6 separate regions of the Homo sapiens genome follow, and all the other regions are linked to region 1. The links are contacts of gene promoters, found by promoter capture Hi-C in blood cells and fetal thymus (Javierre and others, 2016). All regions are on one chromosome and are shown on one strand. Each heading gives the region's core, a stretch centred on a gene start or on the middle of the fragment in contact. The rest is flanking DNA. Distances are from core to core; before and after follow the strand shown.

Region 1 (4,369 bases), core at 1,277-3,776:
CTCATAAGGTTACTCTGAGATTTAAATGAGTTAATACACATAAGGCACGTAGAATAATACCTGATCCTGGGTATACATTTCAGAATACCACCTATGATTACCATGATTATTATGTGGAGTAAAAACATCTTGATCATCACACTGTTTCTATCATTCTTCTAGGTCCAATGCCAGTGCTACAGTGGGAAGCTCCTTTGCAAAGAATTCCATCCCAGGCAGAAGGCAATGCTTTAGGACCCTAAGAGAGACCCATTCCCAAAGCTCACAGGGAACATGGCTGGAGTCCAAGAGGCTGTTCTGCCAGAGAAGCGCTCTGGCACCAGAGGGCAAATCCCCATTTTTCCCCAAGGTGGAAACCACCCACAGTCATCTCCAAACACCATGCTCCAGCAGGAGCCACAGCTTGGAGCCTCAGCAGCCCCGCCACTGCAGAGGTGCAGCTGCACGAGTCAGTCAGGGGACAGGGCATCAGTCACCCGGAGGCTACAGGCAGGAAGCCAGTGTGGGGGGCTCGGGTGGGAACAAGCCACGGACAGGAAAGCATTCACACAGGGTGGGTCCCCATGCTCTCCCATCTCCTCATTGGCGGCCACAGTGCGGGTCCTGGATGACAAGCAAAGGCCATGCTTTCTTGTCTCTCAGTAACTTGAGCATCTCAGAATCACAACCCCAAACCCGAATAAACCTCAGTGGCAATTTTCAAAAGTTTTGACCCAAACTAACCCCTTACCTGGCTGCACTAAGAGGCAACCCCAAACCCCTATTTATTAAAAAGCTACATCTTTTTCTGTTTTCATTCCAACAAAGATAGCAAATAGGTGCCCTCCCTGAAAGGCAACAACCACAGCAGGGAGACCCCACTCTAGTCCTCAGCGTGCGCCTTCCCGGGAATCAGAAGCAGGACTGGGAAAGCCACCCTCACAACTTCTCTCCGGGGGACCCCCTGCAGATCTGCGTGGGGGTGAGGGGAAATGACTGAACAGCAGCAGACGCCGAGCCTGGAGGTGAAGACAAGCTGGGTAATGTGGTGCTGGAAAAAAGAAACCAAGCACAAAAACAAGCACACGGAAAAAAAGGAGGAAGGAAAGAAAGGGCACCCAACAACGCACTGATTTATCCCATGAAATAGCTCCCCTTTCTCTTCCCAGCCTAATCAACACCTCCATGAACCCCTGCAAAATGGGCATTTCTGACTGCACACCTGTGCGTGAATCCACACTGACAGATACTGATGCAGAGCAAATACTGATTGTGTGAGGGAAGGAAATAACTTGAACTTCAGACTCATTCGGCAGGTCCTGATTCTCTTTCACTATCAGCCTCCCCACCTATTCTGAGCCGCTCCGAAACAAAACAAACAAGACCCAACTCCTGGGCAGAAAGGGAACAGCAGCTGAGCTGAGCAGCACATGCTTGGAGCGTTCCTGCCATCGACTTCGGATTATTTCTGCTTTCTTGAGACACAGCCATCAGCATGGGACTCGATGCAGCCCGGAGAGAGCACCGCCCGCGCAGCGACGCGCACAGACCCTCCCTTGGAGACGCGCTCCCCGGCGCGTGCGGCCGAGCCCGCGTGAAATGCACAGACCCTCCGGTGAGGCTCTGCCCACGTGTGACCCTGAGCACTGCGAAGCCCTTCCCTTCCATCCTCGCGTGGCCACCCAAAGTCTTGCCTACACCTCGTACGTGCAGATGCCAATTCCATAGAAATACATGATGTAAGGACAGAAATGGGAACGACTGGAGGCTGATCTTCTCGTGACCACGTCTCGCCAACGCGGTGCGCCCATGCACACGGCGAGTAAACGCACACAGCCGGTAAACAGCCATCCCCACCATGCTCAGCCCACAGTCACGCGTGGGGAGAAGGCAGCGGAGAGGGCGGCGGTGGCAGGAGAAGTGGGAAGTCGCGCGCCCGCGTGGGCTGCTCCCTGACAGCCCGGCGCTGCCCCCTCCCCCTCCCGGGAACGGCGCCCACCCGGGGGTCGCAGGCCCACGCGTCGGGCGCGCTCGGGGGGGCTCCGCAGCGCCGAGAACGGGACAATGAGGACGCGGTGACAGGCTGGGTTTCTGCCGCGGTAGTGGCGGCGGCGGCAGCTGGAGCTGCCCGTGCAGCCCCTGCCGCGGCCACCTCCACCCTCGCCTCCCCGGTCCCCACTTACGTTCCGAGGGTCTCTTTGAACTCGAAGATCTTCTTGATGTCTTCAGCTTGCTTTTTCCAGGAGGAGCTGCTCTCGCCGTTCTCCCGGGCCATGGCCGACGAGCGCGGCGCGGAGGAGCGGCCGGGGGCGCGCTGGGGAGGGGGCGCCGGGGGCGCGGCGCGGGCGCAGAGGCGGCGGGGATGCCGGGCGGCTCGGGCTGCGGCGCAGCTTCCTCCTCTGCAGTTTCCTCTTTCGCTCTCGCCGCCGCCGCCGCGGCCGCGGTCCCTCCCTGGCTCTTATTTCTGCTGTTCTCGGGCACAGACTTCCTGCCGCCGCCGCGCGCCGGCTCCTTTGCCGCCGCCTGCCAGCCTCACTTTCTGCTACTTTCTTGCCTCCCTCCCGCTCCCTCCCTGCCGCCCGCCGCGCTCCCCCCCACCTCGCGCCTCCTCCCCCTCCTCCCCCTCCTCCCCCTCCCGCGGGCTCCCCGCCCTCTCCGTGCGCCCCGGCCGCTCCCCGCCTCCAGCGCGCCGCCTTCGGGGATGTCCCGCTCCCCTCCCAAGAGCGCCGGGCCACGGCCGTCGTGCCCCCTGGAGCCCCGGCGAGGGCGGGTACGGGCCCCCGGCAGGTGCGGGGCGCACGCGGGAGAGCCCCAGCCCCTCCGGGAGCTGGAAACGGAGCCCAGTCTGGGGGCGCCGGGGCTTTCCCGTCTCCGGCGGGAGGGGGCGCCTCTGCGTGGCTCGGAAGCGCCGGGCGGGCGGGGGTGCGCGGCGGCCGGATGCGGGGCGCCGAGGGCGGGGCGCCTTCCCGCGCTGTGGCCTGTGGCCCGGGGGACCCGAGGGGCAAGGCGTGGGGTGGGGGGGGTGGGGGCCGGTTGTTATGGCGACGGGCGGCGGCGGCGGCTGGGATGGAGGCGGAGGCGGGCGGGAGCTCATTCGCATTGCACCAAATCGGTTTCACGTCAGTTTCGGGACAGACCCGCGAGGAGCAAGCCGGGGAGCCTCTGGGCGGGTACGCGCAGGACGCGCCAGCAGCTGCCTCGTGGTCCCTTTGCGAGCAAAACTCCCGGGGGTGTTTGGCAGCCGCGCGGGCGCCCTGGTGCTGGGCTGGAGCGGCCGGCGGGCCTGGCCGGCCTGGTTGCCCTGGCTCACGCTTGGCCCCTTCTGGCATCTCCCTGTCTCCTCCCAGAGACTCAGTGGAAAGAAGTGATCGTCTGCCCCGCAGTCCCCTCGAAGGAGGAGCCCACCCGCGGCTGGCTTAGTAGGGTGTCCGGGTTGCGGGGCAGGCACCTGCTTTCCTATGGACTGCCAAAACTAACCCAGAGAATTCCCTCCGGACTCCCATCTCCCAGCTGTACTTTGGCCTGCCCGCCCCACTCCTGGTGTCCACCTGTCAGAGGGCAGCCCACGTGCTCCAGTTCCCTGGTCCCCAACCTGCAGGGGCGACCTCTTGATCGGAAAATTTTAGATTTCTTGGTATCAACACTTCGCCTCCCTCAGGGCCTCTCCTCGTAGTTGGGTAAACAGCTCTGTCTCTTGACTGGGGACACCTGTCCCATTTTCCCAGGACTGTTCCAATTTCACTGTAAAAGGAAAAAAAAAATCTGCTCCCTGAATAGGAAACTTCATCCAGCACCTTGTGCCTAGTTCTGACTCTGGCTGAAGTGGAGGCAGCCCAGCTGCTCTCCCTCAGCCCCTACTCTGACCCTAAAGAGGTCAGACGACACCCTGGCATCCCCATTCCTGGGACCTCCATGCTAGTTTCCATCTTTCAAAGACGGTTAGCTTAAGGTTTTCCAAACTGAGAAGAGCAAAGAGGGGATTTACTTGCCGGTTAGATGTAGAATAAATCCACAAACCCAATTTCCAACACGGATGGGTGAGAAGAATTACTAAGGAACCTCTCTTATACTTGAGGCACATTACCAAAGTTCAAGGCAAACAGCATCCCCTTCAATAAGAAACATTTGAAAAACTATCATGTATTTTACTTGTGCCAAAGGTTAGATAATACAAACAGTGGGAACCAGGGCATAAGTCAACTAAGATCCCAACTGTCGCTTTCTCATGCCTACAGTCAGCATCTTCTTGTCCTTTCTTTCTCCTTCCCTTCCTCCCACTGTGTTTCCTTCTCCTCTTTTCCTATTTGGTTCTCTGCTATGTTGCCCTTGCTGCCTGGCCTCAGGAACAGCCGCCAGAGCTCATGAAAACAATTCTCATTCTCAGCTATTA
Region 2 (4,369 bases), core at 479-2,978, 370 kb before region 1:
GCCGGCGTCTGTAATCCCAACTCCTCGGGAGGCCGAGGCACGAGAATTGCTTGAACCTGGGAGGTAGAGGTTGCAGTGAGCTGGGATCACGCCACTGCACTCCAGCCTGTGCGACAGAATGTCAAAACACCACCGCATGTTCTCACTCATAGGTGGGAATTGAACAATGAGAACATCTGGACACAGGAAGGGGAACATCACACACCGGGGCCTGTTGTGGGGTAGGGGGAGTGGGGAGGGATAGCATTAGGAGATAAACCTAATGTAAATGACGAGTTAATGGGTGCAGCACACCAACATGGCACATGTATACATATGTAACAAACCTGCACATTGTGCACATGTACCCTAGAACTTAAAGTATAATAAAAAATATAAAAAAAGAATGTCAAAACAACAACAACAACAAAACCTGCTAATAGAGTTTTAAACTACTGCAAGGATATAAACATAATTATTTATGATGTATTTTAATAGAAAAAAATGCCTTTCAATTTACATAGTAACTATTCTGCCTCTTGGAGGTCTTGCTTTCATTCATAAGTAGGCTGATTAGTGATGAGCTTACACATTAGCAAAAGATGCATGTTCATCTGTACCATATTGCAATTCCTGTATGCCTTAATGTAATCAATACTACTGCGGTATTTTCAGTAGATAACCTTCCTTAAGTAGATAACCTTCCCCTCCTTTTCTGAGATGAGATGCCCCAAAAACGATTCAGGGAAATGCAGGATTTAATTAGTTTGGGTTCTGTCATTTACCATCTGTGTGAGGTCAGGGAAGCTTTCTAACCTTGTGAGCTGCAGATGCCTCATCTGTTACATGGAAGAGGTCAGACATCTTTTCCTTTTAAAGCAAAAATTCTACAATTCTCCCGTTCAGACCGTTCAAACACCTAATAAATCTCAATTCTCCCAAACTGCAGCCTGCCTCCTTCCAAATAATGATAAATTCTCAATTAATTAAGTGTGACTCAATGAGATTGCTTTAAGACGTGTGGGCCTGCAATACACAAGCCCACTGCCTGACACCCTGGGACTTTAGCCTCTTCACGTCCATTTCTTCTTTTCCCCATGTGGTGTTCACATAGTTCTTCCTCCCATGTGGACTCCGGAACACCTTCCTTTCTGCCTTTTCCCATCTACACTCAAATTCCAGCCCACACCATTTTCCACCTGCCCCGAGAGCACCGATTATACCTCCGTTAGAGATATACTAATGAACACTTTCAATATTCTGTCACATACTTATTAAATCACATTTCCTGACTCTTTACTCTCTTCTACTTCTCACTCTTGTTCCAAGTAGTTCCCAATAGATCACATCCTTTTTAGTGATCAGGGCCATGCCTTACATTTCTGTTTCCGCCTTAATGCTAGAAACTCTGTTAGGACAGGGATTTTAATCTTATAGCTTCAAGTTTAAATGGTAAGGACCTTTGAACTGACCTCGTCCAGATCCTTTGGTAGGCCGGAGGGGAAGAAACCAACATTTGCCAAATGGCTATTGTGTGCCCAGTGTTTGGCTAAGAATTCCTCATAACTTCTCTATGAAGTATCATTTTCTCCACTTACAGATGAGGATGCTGAAGGGCAAATTTCTATAACTTCTAGGGGATAACTTTGTAACTTACACTACTTTTCAAATTCTTTGGAGTTATCTTTTTTTTTTTTTTTTTTTTTTTTTTTTTGAGGCGGAGTCTCACTTTGTTGCCCAGGCTGGAGGTGCAGTGGCACAATCTTGGCTCATTGCAAGCTCTGCCTCCTGGGTTCACACCATTCTCCTGCCTCAGCCTCCCTAGTAGCTGGGACTACAGGCACCCACCACCAAGCCCGGCTAATTGTTTTGTATTTTTAGTAGAGATGGGGTTTCACTGTGTTATCCCCGGGATGGTCTCGATCTCCAGACTTCGTGATCCGCCCGCCTCAGCCTCCCAAAGTGCTGGGATTACAGGCGTGAGCCACCGCGCCCAGCCTGGAGTTATCTTAAAGTCTACCATGGACTGTCTCCCAAAATGCATATACTGAAATCCTAACACCCAAGGTGATGGTGTTAGGAATGGGGGGCCTGTGGAGGTGATTAGGTCATGAGGGTGGAGCCATTGTGAATGGGATTAACGCCCTTATAAAAGGGACCTCAGAAAGCTACCTCACTTAGGGAAACAGAGCCCCCTCTTGTTATAGAGCCTGCTGCACTTAGAAGGCAGCGAGGGGTTTCAGTAACTCCTACTGTTAAAAACTCCTACTGTCTAAAACCTCTGTTATAGACATTAGGTCTACAGTGGTAATTCTGACACCTGGAGTCTAGGGCCATGTCCGTAACCAGTGCTTGTCTATCAAAGGAGGCACTGGTCCACACAACCCTAATCTCCCCCTAGTCATTTCCCATCGAGCCATGTGGCCTAATGACTACTATCTGGAGGCACCTAGTTCATGCATGTGTGTACCTGTTACTACGGGTTACCCTCTGCTAGGTAATAAGCTCTGTGAGCACAGGGTCCTTGTCTATTTTGTTCACTACTATATTCCTGATGCCTACAAAGGCCCTGGCACCTAGTAGCTGCTCAGTAAATATTTTTTGGATGGATGGATAGATGGATGGATGGATGGATGGATGGATGGATGGTGGATGGTAGCCAGTGAAAGAACACAAAATTTTGAAGCTTGGAGCCATCTAATACCATGGATCCCAGATTTTGATCTGCTCCCAACAGTGCTAAATTGAGTAATGCACAGCCCGCCGATACATTTCCTGTGATTAAATCCTATTCTTCCCTGTATGGAGTTCCAGAAGGTGTTTTTATAAGTTGGTTATATTTGGAACAAGAAGTGAAGAAATTGCTAGCCCTCATCAAGGCTGTCCATTAAGTGAGAAAAAAGCCTGTGACTGGTCTCGAATTACTTATCGAGTAATTGAAATGTGTGGGGAACCACGACAGGATATAAGACTAACGGCCACGCTATTCTGTACGTCCAAGCTTCTCTAGACATTAGCCCCTTGACCGTGAAGATCTCGCTGATTGGGCATGCGCATGTTTGCTAATCACGTGGCACAGTTTAGCCAGTTTGTGATTATTTGTGTACAAATGTCTCTATCTCACCCAAAGACAACAAAAGCCCTGCAGGTCAGGGCCTATTTATATCATCTCACACAAAGCCTTGTCAAGAGTCTCCGCTGAATGGATTCACCAATTCCAGAAGACAGGTGCCCTGTCGTTCACTTTTGAAAAATGACTCACGTGGTTCATTTATGTCCTTGGGCCTGCAGTTAATTCAATTCTAAGGCTGAAATGACTGAGGGAGGACAAGGCACACAACAGGCTTCTCAGCATAACTTGCCAAGAACAATCTCCTTACCGTGGAGAGGAAAACCCTTGAATCCTTATTGATTCTTCGGGGCCATTCGAGAGGGAAAAATAATCTTCTCACTCTTGTAGTTTCAATCTCAAAAAAGGGTTGAAGGGCTCCTATTTCCCTGTCAAACTCTGTTAAGACATTCAGGGCACTGTGCCAGCCACTGGCTTGGGACAATGAGTCTCTGTTTGCTTAGCTAAGATTAGAGAATGTGTCAACAGTCTTATCTACCACGTCATCTCTAGATCTTATTACCCTTAAGCAATGAGTGGGTTGAAAGATTAGTAGGAATGCCTAGAAGTAACTTGTTGGAAGAAACTGGTCACAGACCTGCCAAGGTTTGTCATCACTCAGCATGTCTGTGAAGTTCAAGGGAACTGTGTCTTTAATGGGACTGTCTAAAATCATCTGTAAATGAAGGCCTAAGACCAAGAGGCACATTGTCTCCATGATGCTCTGATGCCCAGCCTCTTCTCTCACTGATACCCCAAGAGTGACTCTTCGCTAGGAATTCTGCAGACGGACCAGGCTGGGTTCTTTTATACCCTAATTCAAGTCATGAGTCCTGAGTGACATCCAGTCCTCTGTGGTTCAGATGGAAAAGCGTTTGAGTGGCTCTGTTGTTCACCTCCAAAGGCATCCCTCCTTCCAGGTGACAACAGCTGGGTATTAGAAGCATGTTCTTAAAGGTCTTGCTACTCAAAGGGTTGTCCTTGGACCAGTCCTTGGTATCACATGGGAGCTTGTTCTAGATGCAAATTCATGCCTCCTTTCCTACCCAGACCCACTGAATCAGCATCTCAGAAGGCAGGGCCCAGCAACCTTTGCTTTAGTGATACCCTCAGGTAATTCTTCTGTGTGCTAAAACTCGAGCTGGATTGCTCGCAACTGTCCCCTTCTCAACCACACTTCCCAGAGGACTGGAATCTAAAGGCTGGGATGCGATGAGCAATTATTTTCTAGTCTCTACACCTGCTAAAAGAGTGTTATCCATAGGTTTCATCCTGGGATAA
Region 3 (4,369 bases), core at 1,013-3,512, 350 kb before region 1:
CTGGAGAGACTGAGGTTATGGTATTGACCAAAGCTGCTCATTATACAAATATGTGACAAATGACACATTTATTTTTAAAGTGGTTAAACTTCAGAAAAATCCCGGGTGTATTTGACAACTAGTTAGCTATCTTCCTAATAGTAACCAGCTATGGCTTGGATGGAAAAACAACAAAAACAATCAGATGAACTTCTTTGGAAACAACTCTGACCTACTGTAATGTAACACTGGGCATCCCTTTTACATACTAAGCCTCAGTTTCTCTGTAATGGGGACTGTATGATTATAAAATCCCCACTGGTCCCAGTTACTGGCATTATAATCTGAGAGGAACAATGCTCTCTGGCAATAATCTCAGATCATGCGCACTCCTGATGACCTTCGGGCTGCCCCTAGGAAGCACACTGTGGAATCTTCAGGAAGTACCAAAATGGGACAATGTGCCCCTCTCATCCCCAGTGCTACGCATCTTCTTTACCTCTCTCTCCCCAGCTCACAGATGGCCTGGACTTAAATACCAGCTCTGCTGCTCATGGCCACGAGGCTATAAGCAACATATGTGCCTCTGTGCACATGGTTCCTTCTCTTGTAAAACTGGGATCATCATAACTGAACCTACCTCGTATCGGGGATTTAAGAGATGAAATGAGATACACATGTAAAGTCCTAGGCACAGGTGCGGCCCACACTGCTTTCATAGGAAAAGTTAGCTACTGTTATTCCTAGGAACTTGCATTTTTGCATCATTGTTTGTTCAGTGTGCCTTTATCGAGTGTCTTTGTTTCAAGAGGCACAGATGGAGCCCGTCTTCAAGTAGCTCTCAAGAGTGTCAGAAACAGATCCCACACCCTGTACTGTGTTTGCCTGAAACTTAAAAGGGTTCTAAGCCTCTGAGGTGTGGCATATTTAACAGGGGCTTAGCTAGAATATGAGAATGATTTGACAGGAATGTTTCCAACAACCTCACCTCCTCGAGGTTGACCTCAGAGCTTAGACAAATTTCACTTCCTCGCCACCAAGAGCAGCGTCCTCCACCGTCTTCCGTTGTGTGCCAGGGATGGCCAGCTGTCCCTGCACGATTCCTGCTCCCCTATGATGGAACAGAATGCTGCTTCTAGAAAGTGGGTTCCCAGCCTAGGCATACATTTCCAGCACCCCCACTCCCTGCCCTGTGCGTCCAACGGGGAGCCACACAAATGAGCTCTGGCCAAGGAATGTGGGGAGAAGTGATGTACATTGCTTCCAGGGTCTTCATAACTGCGCCCTCTGCCCCACATACCTGATCTACTCATTTCCTTTTCCCTTCTGCTGACTAGAGATACCTATATCTATGTGTGGAATATGGCAGGATCTTGCCTGCCTGGGGCTCCAAACGCATGGCTGGGGAAGAACCCCTGGCCCCCAGCCAAGCTTCCAATAGTACATGGATGAGAAATCCACTTCTGTCACGTTCAGCCCCTAAGATCTGGAATGTAACCACTCTCGGAGAAAAGAACCATAGATTTCCTTTCTAGAAGCAAATGAGTATGTTTGGAGAATGCTCAAACTGCCTGAATTTATGGCAGTCTCCTAAAAAGAATACTGGGAAATGACATGAAGGTCACTGGAAGATAGATACTTAAACATTTTGATGTAGAAAGCCTGGGGTGATCATCACAGACATGTCACTTAAGAAGCCACACTGCCTTAAACAAAATCGAACTGAAAGAGAGGGGGCAATGCAGCCTCTGTGGCCAGAGAGGGCTGGGGTAGACCTTCGTCCTCCCCATCCCCAGGCCAGCCCATACTGGAAGAAGCCTGAGGCCTGTTCAGGGGTGTACTTAAAACAGGGAAATGATGACAAGTAACCGTAATTAATTTATTAAAGTCTTTGTAATCTTTGTGCAGGTTATTTTGGTGTGCTTTTTGTTGGTTGTTTGCAAATCACTTCCGTTTATAAATTCCACAAATAAGCCATTGGAAGTAAAAACCCTTTGGACACTAAAGAATAATGTATGAGATCCCAGCTACTCGGGAGACTGAGGCAGAAGAATCGCTTGAACCCCGGAGGCGGAGGTTGCAGTGAGCTGAGATCACACCATTGCACTCCAGCCTGGGTGACAAGAGTAAATTCCATCTCAAAAAAAGAAAAAAAAAAAAAAAGAAGAATCTATGGGCAACTTAAAAGTGGAAATATGCACTTTTAAATAGCAGTAAATTTTCAATCATAGCCAATAACAGCTTGGATCCAGCCCCTTCTCACCATTTCACTCCTTTAGGCACTGACCTTTAGACTGGAAAGGAGAAAATTTTATGCTTTATACATACGTGGAGAAAGATATTTAGTTAAGAACATTAGAATGTAAGTATGGTCAGTCCTCATTATTCACCGATCTGTATTTACAAATTCACCTGCTGGCTAAAATTTCTTTGAAACTTAGAAATCAATACTTGTGGCAATTTTGTGGTCATTCCTGGACATGGGAGCAGAGGGGAGAAAATTCGAGTTACTGGACATGCACATTCCAGGCTGAGGTCAAACAAGATGACACTGTGCCTTCCTGCTTCAGCTCTCCTACTGTCAACAAGGGTCCTTTCTCTGGGCTATTTCGTGCCATGTCTTTCATATATGTTTGCTTTTTGCTTGAGATTTTGTTTGAAACAGGCCGCAGGCACAGTGCTACAGAGCTACTTAGTGCTCCTAAGCTCAGAAAGGCTGAGTAATATTGGTTGGCTGTGTCCCCACCCAAATCTCATCTTGAACTGTAGTTCCCTTTAATTCCCACATGTGGTGGGAGGGCCCAGTGGGCGGTAGTTGAATCATGGGGGCGGTTACCCCCATGCTGCTGTTCTCATGATACTGAGTTGTCACAAGATCTGATGGTTTTTATAAGGAGCTTCTCCCTCTTGCACAGCACTTCTCCTTCCTCCCACCACGTGAAGAAGAACATGTTTGCTTCCCCCTTTGCCATGATTCTAAGTTTCCTGAGGCCTCCCCAGGCCTGCGCAACTGGGAGTCAACTAAACCTCTTTCCTTTATAAATTACCTAGTTTCTGGTATGTCTTTATTAGCAGCATGAGAATGGACTAATCTATGACGCCTTACAGAGAAAATATGTGTGTTATGTAAGCTTTGTTCAGCTGTGGGTTATATTGTGCTGTTGGCTGTGAACTCGATGCTAAATGAATCAAAAATATACTAAGGGACTTCAAAAAGTTCGTGGAAAATGAGTATTACGAAAAAACTATGCATGAATTTCCATTTTTTTTTTGCACCAAAATAAATGTGTACTAGCTTGCTACAACATGTTTAGACAGGATCTAGTTTGAGACAGTAAGAAGGAAAAGACGTCATTTTGAAAAGAGCCCCTATCAGAGCAACATGAATTCTGCTAAAATTGAAGCAAGAACAAACTGCAAATTTATGGTGACACTTGTGTGGAGGAATGGTGAAATCATTGATGCCTTATGAAAAGTTTATGTGGACAATGCCCCAAAGAAATCAGCAGTTTCCAAATGAATAACTTGTTTTAACAAGTTGATGTGGAAGATGAAGTCCACGGCGGCAAACCGTCCTCATCAATCAGCAAGGAAAAAAAAAATCATCTTGTTTTTTTTTTTCAAGTTACAGCCCTAACTGTAGAGGACTAATGATTAACAGCAGAAGCAACAACCAACACCACAGACATCTCAATTGGTTCAGCTTACACAATTCTGACTGAAAAATTAAAGCTGAGTAAACTTTCCACTCTATGGGCGCCAAAACCACTGAGCTCAGCTCAGCTTCAGACAAGAGCAGAGATCTCAACGGAAATTTTCAACAAGTAGGATCAAGATCCTGAAGCATTTCCTTGAAGAACTGTAACAGGAAACAAAACACGGCTTTCCCAGTACAACGCTTTTTCCCAGAAAAAGCACAATCAGAGCAATGGCTACCAAGAAGTAGAAGAGGTCGAGTCACAGCAAAAGCAGACCGGTCAACAGCAAAAGACATGATCACAGTTCTTTTGGACACTCAAGGCATTTTGCTTGCTGACTTTCTGGAAGGCCATAAAATAATATCTCCCTATTATGAAAGTGTTTTGAGAAAGTTAACCAAAGCCTTAGCAGAAAAATGCCTGAGAAAGGGTCACCAGAGAGTCCTTCGCCACCATAACAAGGCTCCTGCTCATTCCTCTCATCACACAAGGGCAATTTGGGGAGAATTTCAGTAGGACATCATTAGGCATCCCCCTTACAGCTCTGATTTGGCTCCTTCTGATTTCTTTTTACTTCCTTATCTTAAAAAAAAGAATCTCTAGGCCGGGTGCAGTGGCTCATGCCTGTAATCCCAGCATTTTGGGAGGCTGAGGTAGGCAGATCACGAGGTCAAGAGCTCGAGACCATCCTG
Region 4 (4,369 bases), core at 1,546-4,045, 300 kb after region 1:
CAGACTGGCCAACATGGAGAAACCCAGTCTCTACTAAAAATACAAAATTAGCCGGGCATGGTGGCGGGCGCCTGTAATCCTAGCACTTTGGGAGGCTGAGGTGGGTGGATTGCCTGAGCTCAGGATTTCGAGACCAGCCTGGGCAACACAGTGACACCCCATCTCTACTAAAATACAAAAAATTAGCCAGGCGTGGCGGTGTGCATCTGTAGCCCCAGCTACTGGGGAGGCTGAGGCAGGAGAATTGCTTGAACCCGGGAGGCAGAGGTTGCAGTGAGCTAAGATCGTGCCACTGGACTCCAGCCCGATGACAGAGTGAGACTCTATCTCAAAAAAAAAAAAAAAAATTAACTGGGTGTGGTGGCACATCCCTGTAGTCCCAGCTACTCGGGAGGCTGAGGCAGGAGAATCACTTGAACCTGGGAGGTGGAGGTTGCAGTGAGGCAAGATCGTGCCACTGCACTCCAGCCTGGGCGACAGAGCGAGATTCTGTCTCAAACAAATCAACAATCAAACAAAAAAACCCCCACATATCCTCTTTTATCTGTCATGTAAAAATACCAAAAATATACAAAAGTAAAAGGTGCAAAACCAAACAGATTCCTCCCTTTTCTCACATTTTCCTATGGCTACATTTTTCTGCTGCTCTTCTCAACATAATTTCTCAAATATTACTCCACTGTTTCCATCTCCAACTTAGTGTTCAACCATTCCAATCTGTCCCCACCACGTCACTGACCTGCATCTGCAAGGTAAGCATTCGTTCCCGCATTGTTAATGCAACAAGCACTTCTCTGTCCTCATGTTCTTCGCTGTCCTAGTAACACAGAAGACAGCTTCCCACTTTTCCTTTCTTGAAGCACCTCTTTTCTTGGCTTTCATGACGCCACACTCTCCTGGTTTTCCCTTTCTTTATTCAGTCTCCTTTTTAGATATTTAACCTCTGTATATGGAAGTTTCTCAGGGCTGAGTCCTGGACCTTTTTCTTTTGCTGCAGTTTCTTGGGTGATCCCATCGATTCTTTTTTTTTTTTTTTTTGAGACGGAGTCTTGCTCTTGTTGCCCAGGCTGGAGTGCAGTGGCACCATCTCGGCTCACTGCAACCTCTGCCTCCCGGGTTCACGCCATTCTCCTGCCTCAGCCTCTGGAGTAGCGGGGACTACAGGCGTTCGCCACTATGCCTGGTTAATTTTTGTATTTTTAGTAGAGATGGGGTTTTGTCATGTTGGCCAAGCTGGTCTCAAACTCCTGACCTCAAGTGATCTGCCTTACTCGGCCTCCCAAAGTGCTGGGGTTACAGGCGTGAGCCACTGTGCCTGGCCTGAACCCATCCATTCTTATGGCTTTAAATACTGTCTGTTCGGATGACTTTCAAAATTTCATCTCTAGGCTGGAGCTCTCCCCTGTGTTCCAAGTGCCCATTTGACATTTCTAGCTGCATAACCAGGAACTTCCAATTCTCCAGGTTTTACCTCAAATTTTAAATCATTCAAGAGCCTTTTCCTGACTATAAAGCAGCCTCCCTCTTCCCTCTCTCCTGTTACTCTGCATGATGTTACCCTTTTTCCCTTTGAGCATTTATTCTAACCATCACAGTTTTTATCTGTTTATTTACGATCTACCTCCTGCATTAGATTGTAATCTCATTCATTGGACTTTCACTGCTTGCCAAGTGCTGTTCTAAGTACTTTATAAGTCTTATCATTTTATTTATTTATTTATTTATTTATTTTTTGAGAGGGAGTCTCGCTTTGTTGCCCAGGCTGGAGTGCAGTGGCGCAATTTTGGCTCACTACAACCTCCGCCTGCTGGGTTCAAGCAATTCTCCTACCTCAGTCTCCCGAGTAGTGGAGATTACAGGCGCCCGCCACCATGACCGGCCAATTTTTGTATTTTAGTAGAGGCAGGGTTTCACCATGTTGGCCAGGCTAGTCTCGAGCTCCTGACCTCAGGTGATCCACCCGCCTTGGCCTCCCAAAATGCTGGGATTACAGGTGTCAGCCATAGCGCCCGGCCAAGCCAATATTAATTTACTTTTTTGACTAGCCACATTAAAAGCTTGAAAAATAAAACAGGTTAATCTCACATTGCTTGTGTTCTGTTTTGGTGGAATTCAGAGAAGCCAGTGTTAGTGAACTGATTTTCATCTTACAGTTCCACAAGAAATTCCAACATGATTTGGTAATAAGTACTAATACGTTTCGTATGTTTATATTTGTTTAAATGCACCCTCAATACTTACATTTCTTTTCTTTTTTTATTTTTTGAGACAGAGTTTCGCTCTTGTTGCCCAGGCTGGAGTACAATGGAGTGATCTCGGCTGCCTGCAACCTCCGCCTTCTGGGTTCAACGATTCTCCTGCCTCAGCCTCCCGAGTAGCTGGGATTACAGGCGCACACCACCAAGCCTGGCTAATTTTATATTTTTAGTAGGGACAGGGTTTCACCATGTTGGCCAGGCTGGTCTCGAACTCCCGCCCTCAGGTGATCCGCCCGCCTTGGCCTCCCAGTGTTGGGATTACAGGCGTGAGCCATCACGCCCGGCCGATGCTTATATTTCATATTGAAGGGACACACCTCAACACATTTACTTTTGGAAACTGTTAAGCAGATAGAGGGAACGCTGAAAAAATTTCTACCAGAGATATACCAAGAGGTGGGTATTTTTTAAAAAGCAGCTTAAACTAGGTTAGTTAAACATCGGCTTCTAAAAGATCAAAGCTGGATTTCCTCATGGAACAGAACACTCCCAGTTCTCTGAGGTCAGTGGGCAGAGGCTGTAGTTATAGCTGGTTGGCTTCATCTGATGCATTTTTCTTTTCCTTAAACTCAGGATTTGTCCTGCTCCGTAATTGTAATCTCTTTGCCTGGCCTTTGCTTTCGTCTGTGAAGCTGCCACTAGGTAGGTTTTAAGTAGGGAGTAGTATCGTGTAGGTCTAAATAAAAACTAAATAGTTTCATTCTCTTTTTTCCCCATATAGAACAGTTCTGTCAATTGGAGCAGGCAAAAATAACAATGAACATTTTTGAGACTTTTCTCAAAAATTCATCTTGAGAATGTATTTTCAGAAAATCATGAAGTTTGAATTATTATCCGAATAAAAAAATGATGGCCTCTTCAGAGCGGGGTGTTTTTTCTAGTTAAGAGATTACAATGATATTCCCACATCAGGCTTTTGGTGGCTAGCTTGACATCTGTCTTTGGAAGTAAAATGATTGGCAGCATTCTCAGTTTATGTAAAAGTTTGCATAGAGACATAGCAGAAAGAACTTGGGTTTTTGGAGTTAGATTTGAGAATACTAGATAGTATACTTATTAGTTTTGTGATAGTAAATTCATCTGACTCTATTTTTATAAAATGGTGATTGCGATGAACTAAAATCACAAATGTGAAATAGCAAATTCTCAACAAAAAGGCCCTCCTGTTTTTTGATTTTAGGTGATTTCCTTTTAACACCTGATTAAAGACAAAGGTTGACTTGATTTAGGATGAGAAGGATTTATTATATTTATTAACAAAGAGGTAAAGCTTTTTTCTTTCTTTCTTTTCTTTCTTTTTTTTTTTTTTTTTGAGGCAGAGTCTCACTCTGTTGCCCAGTCCAGAGTGCAGTGGCGCTATCTCGGCTCACTGCAACCTCTGCTTCCCGGGTTCTAAGTGATTCTTCTGCCTCAGCCTCCCGAGTAGCTGGGATTACAGGCGCTCGCCACCACATTTGGCTAATTTTGTATTTTTAGTGGAGACTGGGTTTCACCATATTGGGGCCAGGCTGGTCTGGAACTCCTGACCTCAGGTGATCCACCAGCCTCGGCCTCCCAAAGTACTGAGATTACGGGCATGAGGCACCGCACCAGCCAGAAGTAAAGCTTCTTAAGGTAATCCCATGAAATGGGAAAAGGAAACCTTGAAGAGAAGCGTGGGTGGCTATCACCAATATGGTATTTGGGGCAGTTCTCATAATTGTTTATCAATGCTGCAGAATAGCAGTATTCATCTTTCTCTTTTTTTTTTTTGAGACGGAGTCTCCCTCTGTCGCCCAGGCTGGAGTGCAGTGGCGCAAACTCGGCTCACTGCAAGCTCTGCCTTCCCGGTTCACGCCATTCTCCTGCTTCAGCCTCCGGAGTAGCTGGAACTACAGGCACGTGCCACCACGGCCGGCTAATTTTTTTTGTATTTTTAGTAGAGACGGGGTTTCACCGTGTTAGGCAGGATGGTCTCGAACTCCTGACCTTGTGATCCGCCCGCCTCGGCTTCCCAAAGTGCTGGGATTACAGGCGTGAGCCACCGTGCCCGGCCTTCATCTTTCTCTTTCACTATCCTTTAAATGACTGACCTATGTGTAGTGTATAAAAAATATATATTTTTAAATACA
Region 5 (4,369 bases), core at 1,111-3,610, 290 kb before region 1:
GGTGTTCCCATCTGAGTGAGCCGCCTCAATATAGCACCACAGCCTCACAAAGGCTAAAGGAGTCACGGATGCTCTCCTGCCAATTCCTCACCATGTTCTTCAACAGACTGTATCTTCTAAGAATAAAAGAGATTACTAATATTTGCACAATTGTATGCTTACTTCCCACCCCCGCCCTCCCAAAATCAGGACATCTTTACATTAGCAAATCCAGTAGCACTACCACCAGGAATTCTGCCTGGGACCTTGGGAAATATTTGGCATTTCTGCAACCTGCCTCTATACACCCTGCTGGCCACAGATGAGATAAAGAAGTGAATGGATGTCATACGTCCATGCGTTTGCATTAAAGAAAGACGCAGAGGCTGTCTTCAACAGGCAGGAAGGTAATCGCAACACTGAAGGGACCTACTTCCTTCTGTGAGAGTTGAGAACAAACGCATGACTTTCGAGAGAGGGAGAATGTTCTAGAAGTATCTACAGTAGTCGTATTTTAGAAATATAGGTTTCCAAATTATCTTCAGAAATAAAGTATGGACGTGGCGCAGTGGCTCACACCTGTAATCCCGGCACTTTGGGAGGCTGAGGCGGGTGGATCACATGAGGCAAGGAGTTCAAGATCAGCCTGGCCAACATGGTGAAACCCCGTCTCTACTAAAAATACAACAATTAGCCGGGCATGGTGGTGCACATCTATAATCCCAACTACTTGGGAGGCTGTGGCAGGAGAATGGCTTGAGCCCGGGAGGTGGAGGTTGCAGTGAGCTGAGATGAAGGCACTGTACTCCAGCCTGGATGAGAGAGAGAGACTGTATCAAAAAAATAAAAATAAAAAGTATGGTCTTAATTCTGAGTTGCTTTTACAGATGCCTGTTCTTTTGGTGCTCGGTGGCTCCTCAGATTTCCTGAGCAAGAACACTGAAGTACACAGGAAGCATGTCCAATATTCAGAGAAAATGTGAACAGTATTCTGTTCTGTGCTGAAAACAGTTACTGACAGAAGGCAAGATGCCAGAATCAAAACTTCTAACTGAAAATCACTGTGGAACAACAGAAAAAGCCTCAGCTTTGGAGGAAGCTGGGTCCAAATGCCCATTCCGACATCTGCTGGCTGTATAACTTCAAACAAGTTATTCAACCCCTCTCAGTCTGTTTCCTCATTGGCGAAAACTGCATATAAGGCCAGGCACAGTGGCTCAGGCCTACAATCCCAGCACTTTGGGAGGCTGAGGTGGGAGAAACGCTTGATCCCAGGAGTTTGAGGCCAGCCTGGGCAACAGAGTGAGACTGCGTCACTACAAAAAATACAAAAAATAGCCTGGTGTGGTGGCACACACCTGTAGTCTCAGCTCCTCAGGAAGCTGAGGTGGGAGGATCGCTTGAGCCCCAGAGGTCAAGGCTGCGGTGAGCTATGATCGTGCCACCGCACTCTAGCCCAGGTGACAAAGCAAAATACCGTCTCAACAAAACAAAACAAAAACCACATATATAATATGCCCCTTAGAGGATTATGGTGAGAATTCAATCAGATTATGTGTAAAATACCTGGTATAGCACCTTAACTAAACCTGGTATATTGCCTTAACTAAAACATACCTGCTAGCAAGAGAAACTGGAAAACCTCCAAGGGTATTTTATAAGATGAAAAGAGCTCTGCAGACAGATGGTGGTAAGGATCATATAACAATGTGAAATGTACTTAATGCCACTGAACTGGATACTTAAAAATGCCTAAGATGGTAAATTGTATGTTATGTGTATTTTGCCACAATACAAAAGAAAAACTGCAAGGACTGTTTGGAAAGTGTTTAAAATGTCTAGATGAAGAAACCTCCACAGTAATCAAGAGGGAGATTTCTCCTACTTTAAATAGGATAGTTTTCTTGCAAGCCTAGTGAATTGTCTCTTATAACTGAAATATGCAATTTAAGTACTGAATTGTTACTAATAAAATGCTCAATGGAGTATCATTTAAATATAAAGTGAAACATCAGGTTTTATCAGGAATCACATTTTTTTTAGAAGGGAAGGAAGAAAAGAATTAATCATTATAAGATAAAAACCCCCTTTTCGCACTGCAGATCATTACTCCTAACCTCAACTTGGTTAACATTCAGAAATAAAATCCGTTTTGCCACATTAAAATCTGTAGGCCTCATTTTTAGCAAATACTGATATTTGCAAAGCCATGAACCGATAGATCTGAAAGGCAGAGGGCCTCTTCCCCCCCAGCAAGATGGCGTGGGTCCCTTCTCTCTTCTAAAGGAATCCTCACACCTCCACCCTCCCCCAGACCAGAGTTCTTTGAATCTAAGAGCTCCTGCACTGCGCCGTGGGCTTAGGGGGTACTCAACAAGCCATTGGTGAATGAACACAACTTTGTATCTAACCTATTCCCATCGGTGACATCTGAACAGTTTTGCACTGACTCACTGCTTCATTGACTACGTTTACTAAAACAAACAAGCAACTTAAAAGGGCAGTGACTTTCTCAAGAAAAGCGGATGGGAAGTCCCAGGAAATGACGATTCTCAGTGGTACCATCCAACACAACCGGATTCCGGGTCAGACCTGGGCAGCCACGGGGCAGGTATACCCAGGCTCTCACTATGCCACCCACAGGAAGGCCTCCCGAGCCCCCAAACTCTCCTCCTCCACCACACCCCACATCAACCTCTCTCATGTTCCCCACAGCTCCTATCAGCTTCCAAAATTATCTTGTTGATCATCCACTGTCCCTGCCCCTCCACTCTCCAACATACGCCCCATCAAAACAGAGACTTTGTCTGTCTGGGTCACGGCTGCATCCTCTCTTCCAGCACAGTATATGGCATCTGCCAAATGAAGGAATGAGTGAGCAACTAAACAAAGAATGGAACAAAACCAAGCCTCATCTGCTTGTGCTGCCACCCAAGTCCCACTGAACATGGGCAGAATCCCGGCCACCATCATGACCTCAAAATGCCAGACTCATTCAAGGTGAGACCTCCCCTTGGAGAACCCCGAGATGTTGCCTCCCAGCGGCAGAGAGAAGCGAAAGCTGATGGGCCGGCAGGAAGAAAAGCTGCACCGGACTCTAGCTACAAGGTTGTGAAACACCAGCATGACGAGAAAGTCAAGACTCGTAGTGACACTCAGCCCGGGAGTGGAAGGTCAGCCAGGCGGCTCTGGGGGGCTGTCTGGAAGGAGCATCTCCTACATGGATGGCATCTGACAGCAGAAAATGGATGTGCAGCTCCAGCTGGAGAGGGAACAATAGTTCCTTAGTCCCCACACCACTAAGCCATGGGATGATTCCAGCCACCTCCCACCCCGCGCTCTGTCCCTGTTGAACTCCTGCTTACGGGACAATGGGTGGGACAACAGGATGATCACTTGGGGGCAGAGGCAGGAGGATGGCTTGAGCCCAGAGGTGTGGCTGAAAACAGCTGCTGTAGGAGGATGAGGGAGCATCTGTGTTTGGAGGTGTCTCCTGACAAAGCAGATGGGCTTTTTGGTTTTATTTTCTTCTCTCCCCAATGAATCACTGCACACTCCATACTGTGCAGCGTGAAACAGAATAAAGGCAGGTGAGAAAGGACGATGCTAGGACACAAGGACCTGCAAAGAAATTACTCAGCAACATGCAAAACAGCTGTTCTTACCCAGGATGGGACTGAAAGTCACTCTTCAAGAGACAGAAAAAACTCCTGTGAGCTGATGCCAGTGCACCCTGAATCTCACCAGCATGCCTCAGCCCCCCTCCCAATTCCCCAGGAGCCGCTGAGAGAGGACTGGAGCAGCTCAGGTGATCCCTCTGACTAAAGCCAGGTGGTGCCAGACTCGGGAAATATTCTTTCTGTGCAGGTTTCAAACTCCACGGACCACGGCCTCAAAGAGTCAAACCACTGCAAAAGGGTCAGGGCATCCCTCACAAAGGCCTGTGCCTACCTTTTAAAAAGAGTAACTCCTGGCTGGGAAAGTTGGCTGACGCTTGTAATCCCAGCACTTTGGGAGGCAGAGATAGGAGGATGACTTGAGCCCAGGAGTTCGAGACCAGCCTGGGCAACATAGAGAGACCCCATCTCCACCAAAAAGATAAAAATTAGCTGGGCATGATGGTGCGTGCCTGTGGTCCCAGCTACTGGGGAGGCAGAGGTGGGTGGATCGCTTGAGCCCAGGAGGTTGAGGCTGCCCTGAGCCATGATTGTGCTACTGCACTCCAGCCTGGGCAACAGAGTGAGATGCTACCTCAAAAAATTAAGAAAAGAGTAACTCTTCAGTTTTCACGGAGCCCTCGGAACCGAGTATCTACAGCCACCCTGAGTGTCTGCTCAGGGATATAAGGACGCTGTTAATAAGCGCATCATGCCCAGGTGCTCTCTATCGC
Region 6 (4,369 bases), core at 739-3,238, 270 kb before region 1:
CTATGAGAATAGCTAAAATCACAAAATGACGGCAACGTCAGATCCTGGCGAGGATGCAGAGAAACGATCACTCACACATTACTGGTGGGAATGTAAAGTGACACAGCTACACGGTGCCAAACAGTTTCTTTACAAATGGAACATGCAACCACCATGCAACCTAGCAATTGAACTCCTGGCATTTATCCCAGAGAAATAAAAAGTTATGTTCACACAAAAACCTGTACATGGACGTTTATAGCAGCTTTATTTTTTTTTTTTTTTTTTTTTTTTTTTTTTTTGAGACGGAGTCTCGCTCTGTCGCCCAGGCCGGACTGCGGACTGCAGAGCTTTATTTTTTAATAGTCAAAAACTGGACACAAACTAGGTGTCCTTCAACTGGTGAATGGTTAAACAAAGTGGTACACTCAAACTGTGAAATACTTCTCAGTTATCAAATAGAACAACTACTGATACATACAACAACTTCGATAAATCTCCAGTGAAAGTTGAGTGAAAAAGAAGATCCCAAAAGGTTACATATTGTAAGATTCAATTTATATAACATTCTTGAAATGACAAAACCATAGAAATGGGGAAGAGACTACAGGTTACCTGAGGTTAGGCAGGGGGTGAGATCATGCAGGAGGGAAGTGGGTTTGCTACAAAAGAGCACCATGAGGAATTCCAGAAGCTTTTGTATCCTGCTTGTATCAATGTCAATATCCTGGTTGTAATACTGTACTACAGTTTTGTAAGATGTTACCATTTGGGGAAACTTGGTAAAGGGTACATGAGATCTCACTGTATATTATTTCTTATAATTGTATGTGAATCTACAACTATCTTGAAATTAAAATGTTAAAATTAAAATGTAATTTTTAATAATTTTAAAAATCCAAGTAGGGGATGGTAGCATACACCTATAATCCCAACACTTTGGGAGGCTGAAGCAGGAGGATCACTTGAGGCCAGCAATTCAAGACCAGTCTAGGCAACACAGTAAAACCCTTCCTCTACCAAAAATTCTAAAATTAGCCAGGCACGGTGGTGTACATTTGCAGTCCCAGCTACTCGGGCTGAGGCAGAAGAATTACTTGAGACCATCAGGCTGAGGCTGTAGTAAGCCATGATTGTACCACTGCACTCCAGCCTGGGCAACAGAGCAAGACCCCGTCTCAAAAAAAAAAAATCCAGCTCTATGTGAATTTGGTCATTATTCACCCTGTCTATGCCTTAGTTTCCTCAGGAGAAAAACAGGGATAACAGTAATGCCAGCTTTATGGGATTACTGTGAAATTGGAACAGTTTACTAGACATAAAGTACTTAAACTACTTAGCAGACAGCACTCAAATGCATTTACCATGATTATTTCAATCAGTAATTCAAAAGCATTTATTGAGCTCCTGCTACATGCAAAGATTCAATGGCTTCTTTAAAAACAGACATCTCAGGTAGTAGTACTGCATAGCACTGAGAGAGAGAGACTTTGGAGTAAGAGAAAACTGGGTTTAAACCTCAGCACTGCCACCATCTTTGCTGTGCATGCTTAGGCAATTTACTTAGCCACTCTGAACTGCCTTTTCTTTAACAGTAAAACAGAATTAATAATATACCTTCACAGGGTTATGCGTATTAAGAAGATATATGTCACTGATTGGTATATGACAAATAAACTGCAACTATTATTACTACTACCCATATATTCTCTTTTTGTTGCCTTCTTCCTACGCAAAGTTTAAACTTCTTGAGAAGAGTCTCTTTTTTTTTCCCATGAATCCCTCTAAATACCAAGCCTAATGTGATGAAAATAGAAAGTACTCAATTAATACTTAGTAAAAAATAAAATACTCTGGCAATGCTTAATGAAATTAAGTATTACCTGATACTTAAATGAAAAGTAACTGTATGCTTTCTTCTGAATATGAGGCTCCCAAAAAATCCCCCCACGAGTCTTTGAAGGGGCATGAACAAGGGTTTTCATCCATGATACTCTTTATGGACACACAAGTGCAAGACGGTTCAGTCATCCATCACCAGGGAGATGAAGATAAAATGGGGTAAAAGCAGCTATAAACAATGAACTAGAGAAAACAGAGTAAGTAGCACGGACAGATGTTAGAAAGAGCATGCATTGAAAGTGCGAAGCAACAGAATGAAATCTATTGAAGAATGCCATTCATGTAAATTAAAAATACAAACATTCACACACACATGCACACCACAAAATGAAAAAAAAAATTAGGAGGATGCCTGTGTATTCAAAGAGATTTAGCAAGTCCATTATAGTGGATATCTATGGAGGCAGGAATAGGAAATGAGGAAATGTTGAAGAGGAGAGAGAGACACAGAGCCCTGAATCGGCTGCTAATCATGAACCACTGGATCTAATTAAGTCACCTCTCAATACTAGATCCAAAACAAATGTGAATTAATACAAAATATGTAAATGATTACGTAAATAGTGACAGCATTCTACCCTGAACCTTACTGAGGAGGTAGCAATTAAAGAGATAATTCTGAAATGACAATGCAAAATCAGTACAGATAAACGGCTGTAATCCAATTGTTTGGCTATTTAATAAAATTAATGGTCTGAAGAGCATACCACTTCACGTTTCATTTGGAAAAAGTTCTATCAGGATTTCAAGGAGCTCACCAGTGGAAACCAGCATTTCAGTGACATGCTTTTTCTCCCCACCTCATTTATGTCTTTTGTGACTGTTCAATATTTTTATCACTGGTGAATCAGAGACATGCAATCTGGAGGAGAAAAAACTAACCCGGCAGGTATCTCAGCAACTAGAAAAACCGAAGGAAGGGCGTGCTCACCACTAGGGATGTTGACATTTGGTCCCAAGGCCAGAAAACAGATGCAGGTGGGACAGAAAATTACTTCTCTCCTCAAAGAGAAGAAACGGCTCCCCCGAAAGCAGAAAATACAAACTGCCTCGCCCTGGGGTGCGCTTATTTTCTGGCCATCATAGCCTGCATATCTGCCTACCACACAAGTGGCTTGTTCCCCTGCTCTGAGGAAAAGCTGCTGCTAATTTATTCTGGGAGCAAGAAGAGATGAATGGGGATATTTACCGTAAGTGACGCCAGAGTTAACACGGGGAATTTCTGGCTAGTGGAGTTATGAGTGTTCTTCCTCTTTTTGCTTATGTATTTTTCCTCATTTGTCTTCTAGGAATACACATTACTTTTCTTGTTGTGAAAAAATTACAACATTTTAAAATAAAATAACAGCACCAGTTAATCAGCTAGAGGGCTTAACAGTCACGATTCCTTTGGTGCACTAGTAATCTTACTGCAAAGCTTAAATGTTTTTGCAACTAATAACTTTCTTCCCAATTCTATCAGCTGCTTGCATCCTTGAGGAAAAAAAATCTACCACTCACCTTGCTTACGAGAAGTTCATGGTCAAGTGCTTAGTTGATTAGAACATGCCTTATTTTTGTGACTAGACAGGGATATTAAAAAGGCGATCCCCAAGCTACACTTCCAGTCACCACCACCCCTTCCCTACACCCCAAACACTTCACCGAATAAATGCCACTGAAGTGGGTGTCCGGTAATTCAACAGTTATAATGTATGGACTCAAGACAGAGACCACCTCGGTTCCCGCCCTGCCTCCTCTACTCTAGCTGGTGAGAAGATACTTGACCTCGGCCAGGCGCGGTGGCTCAGGCCTGTCATCTCAGCACTTTGGGAGGCCGAGGCGGGCGGATCACGAGGTCAGGAGATCGAGACCATCCTGGCTAACAAGGTGAAACCCCGTGTCTACTACAAATAGAAAAAATTAGCCGGGCTTAGTGGCGGGCGCCTGTAGTCCCAGCTACTCGGGAGGCTGAGGCAGGAGAATGGCGTGAACCCGGGAGGCGGAGCTTGCAGTGAGCCGAGATCACACCACTGCACCCCAGCCTGGGAGACAGAGCGAGACTCCGTCTCAAAAACAACAACAACAACAACAACAAAAAACAAACAAACAAAAAGATACTTGACCTCTCTGTCCTTTGGATTTTTCCGTAAAGGGTGGGTAAAAACAGTAGCTACTTAAGAGGTTGATTCGAGGATTTAATGCGCTAGTTCATGTAAAGGGTTTAGAACAGTCTGTCTCGCTGTAGCATCGATAAATGTTAGCTACTCCTATTACTGTCCAAGATAACCCGCTTTGTTATGCAATCAATTTTGAAACATTATATAAGACTAAAATATTCAAGCCTGCCCATACTTGGAAAACTAATTTTATTTCTTCCTATTTCCTTACCGTTAGCCATATTTTAAACACACATGTGCACACTCATATGAAACTACACACATATACATTCACACACGTACATTTATACACACACCTACATATACACACCCACATACACACACGCTCA

What was found. Contacts are between HindIII fragments. The CHiCAGO score rates a contact against its expected background, and 5 or more counts as called.
Region 2: a contact is called between a fragment that was not itself captured here and the fragment with the promoter of CAMK1D in region 1, in 1 of 17 cell types (fetal thymus). The highest score is 8.0, in fetal thymus.
Region 3: a fragment that was not itself captured here is called in contact with the fragment with the promoter of CAMK1D in region 1 in 11 of 17 cell types (fetal thymus, total B cells, activated CD4 T cells and 8 more); the score reaches 8.6 in fetal thymus.
Region 4: a contact is called between a fragment that was not itself captured here and the fragment with the promoter of CAMK1D in region 1, in 1 of 17 cell types (neutrophils). The highest score is 5.3, in neutrophils.
Region 5: a fragment that was not itself captured here is called in contact with the fragment with the promoter of CAMK1D in region 1 in 14 of 17 cell types (naive CD8 T cells, M2 macrophages, naive B cells and 11 more); the score reaches 13.0 in naive CD8 T cells.
Region 6: a fragment that was not itself captured here is called in contact with the fragment with the promoter of CAMK1D in region 1 in 12 of 17 cell types (M2 macrophages, total CD4 T cells, total B cells and 9 more); the score reaches 9.5 in M2 macrophages.

Annotation. Positions count from the first base shown.
Region 1 is chr10:12,347,704-12,352,072 of GRCh38, reverse strand. It overlaps CAMK1D (calcium/calmodulin dependent protein kinase ID), which reads right to left and starts at 2,526. Exons shown (of 11, transcript NM_153498.4): 1 at 2,163-2,526. The coding sequence starts at 2,254. RefSeq lists enhancers at 1,378-1,537, 1,712-2,211 and silencers at 2,248-2,337, 2,508-3,067, 3,108-3,367. The HindIII fragment of the contact is 10,581 bases long and covers 1-4,369 here.
Region 2 is chr10:12,719,771-12,724,139 of GRCh38, reverse strand. All of the region lies in intron 3 of CAMK1D (calcium/calmodulin dependent protein kinase ID), which reads right to left. Among named protein-coding and RNA genes, the nearest start is that of MIR548Q, 3.4 kb to the left of the region's middle. The HindIII fragment of the contact is 1,879 bases long and covers 789-2,667 here.
Region 3 is chr10:12,698,881-12,703,249 of GRCh38, reverse strand. All of the region lies in intron 3 of CAMK1D (calcium/calmodulin dependent protein kinase ID), which reads right to left. Among named protein-coding and RNA genes, the nearest start is that of MIR548Q, 24 kb to the left of the region's middle. The HindIII fragment of the contact is 1,700 bases long and covers 1,413-3,112 here.
Region 4 is chr10:12,044,186-12,048,554 of GRCh38, reverse strand. It overlaps LOC105376416 (a long non-coding RNA gene), which reads left to right and starts at 2,478. Exons shown (of 3, transcript XR_930666.2): 1 at 2,478-2,654; 2 at 2,832-2,900. The HindIII fragment of the contact is 1,471 bases long and covers 2,060-3,530 here.
Region 5 is chr10:12,633,439-12,637,807 of GRCh38, reverse strand. All of the region lies in intron 2 of CAMK1D (calcium/calmodulin dependent protein kinase ID), which reads right to left. Among named protein-coding and RNA genes, the nearest start is that of MIR4481, 18 kb to the left of the region's middle. The HindIII fragment of the contact is 7,467 bases long and covers 1-4,369 here.
Region 6 is chr10:12,616,099-12,620,467 of GRCh38, reverse strand. The region is part of intron 2 of CAMK1D (calcium/calmodulin dependent protein kinase ID); the gene reads right to left. Among named protein-coding and RNA genes, the nearest start is that of MIR4481, 35 kb to the left of the region's middle. The HindIII fragment of the contact is 2,625 bases long and covers 676-3,300 here.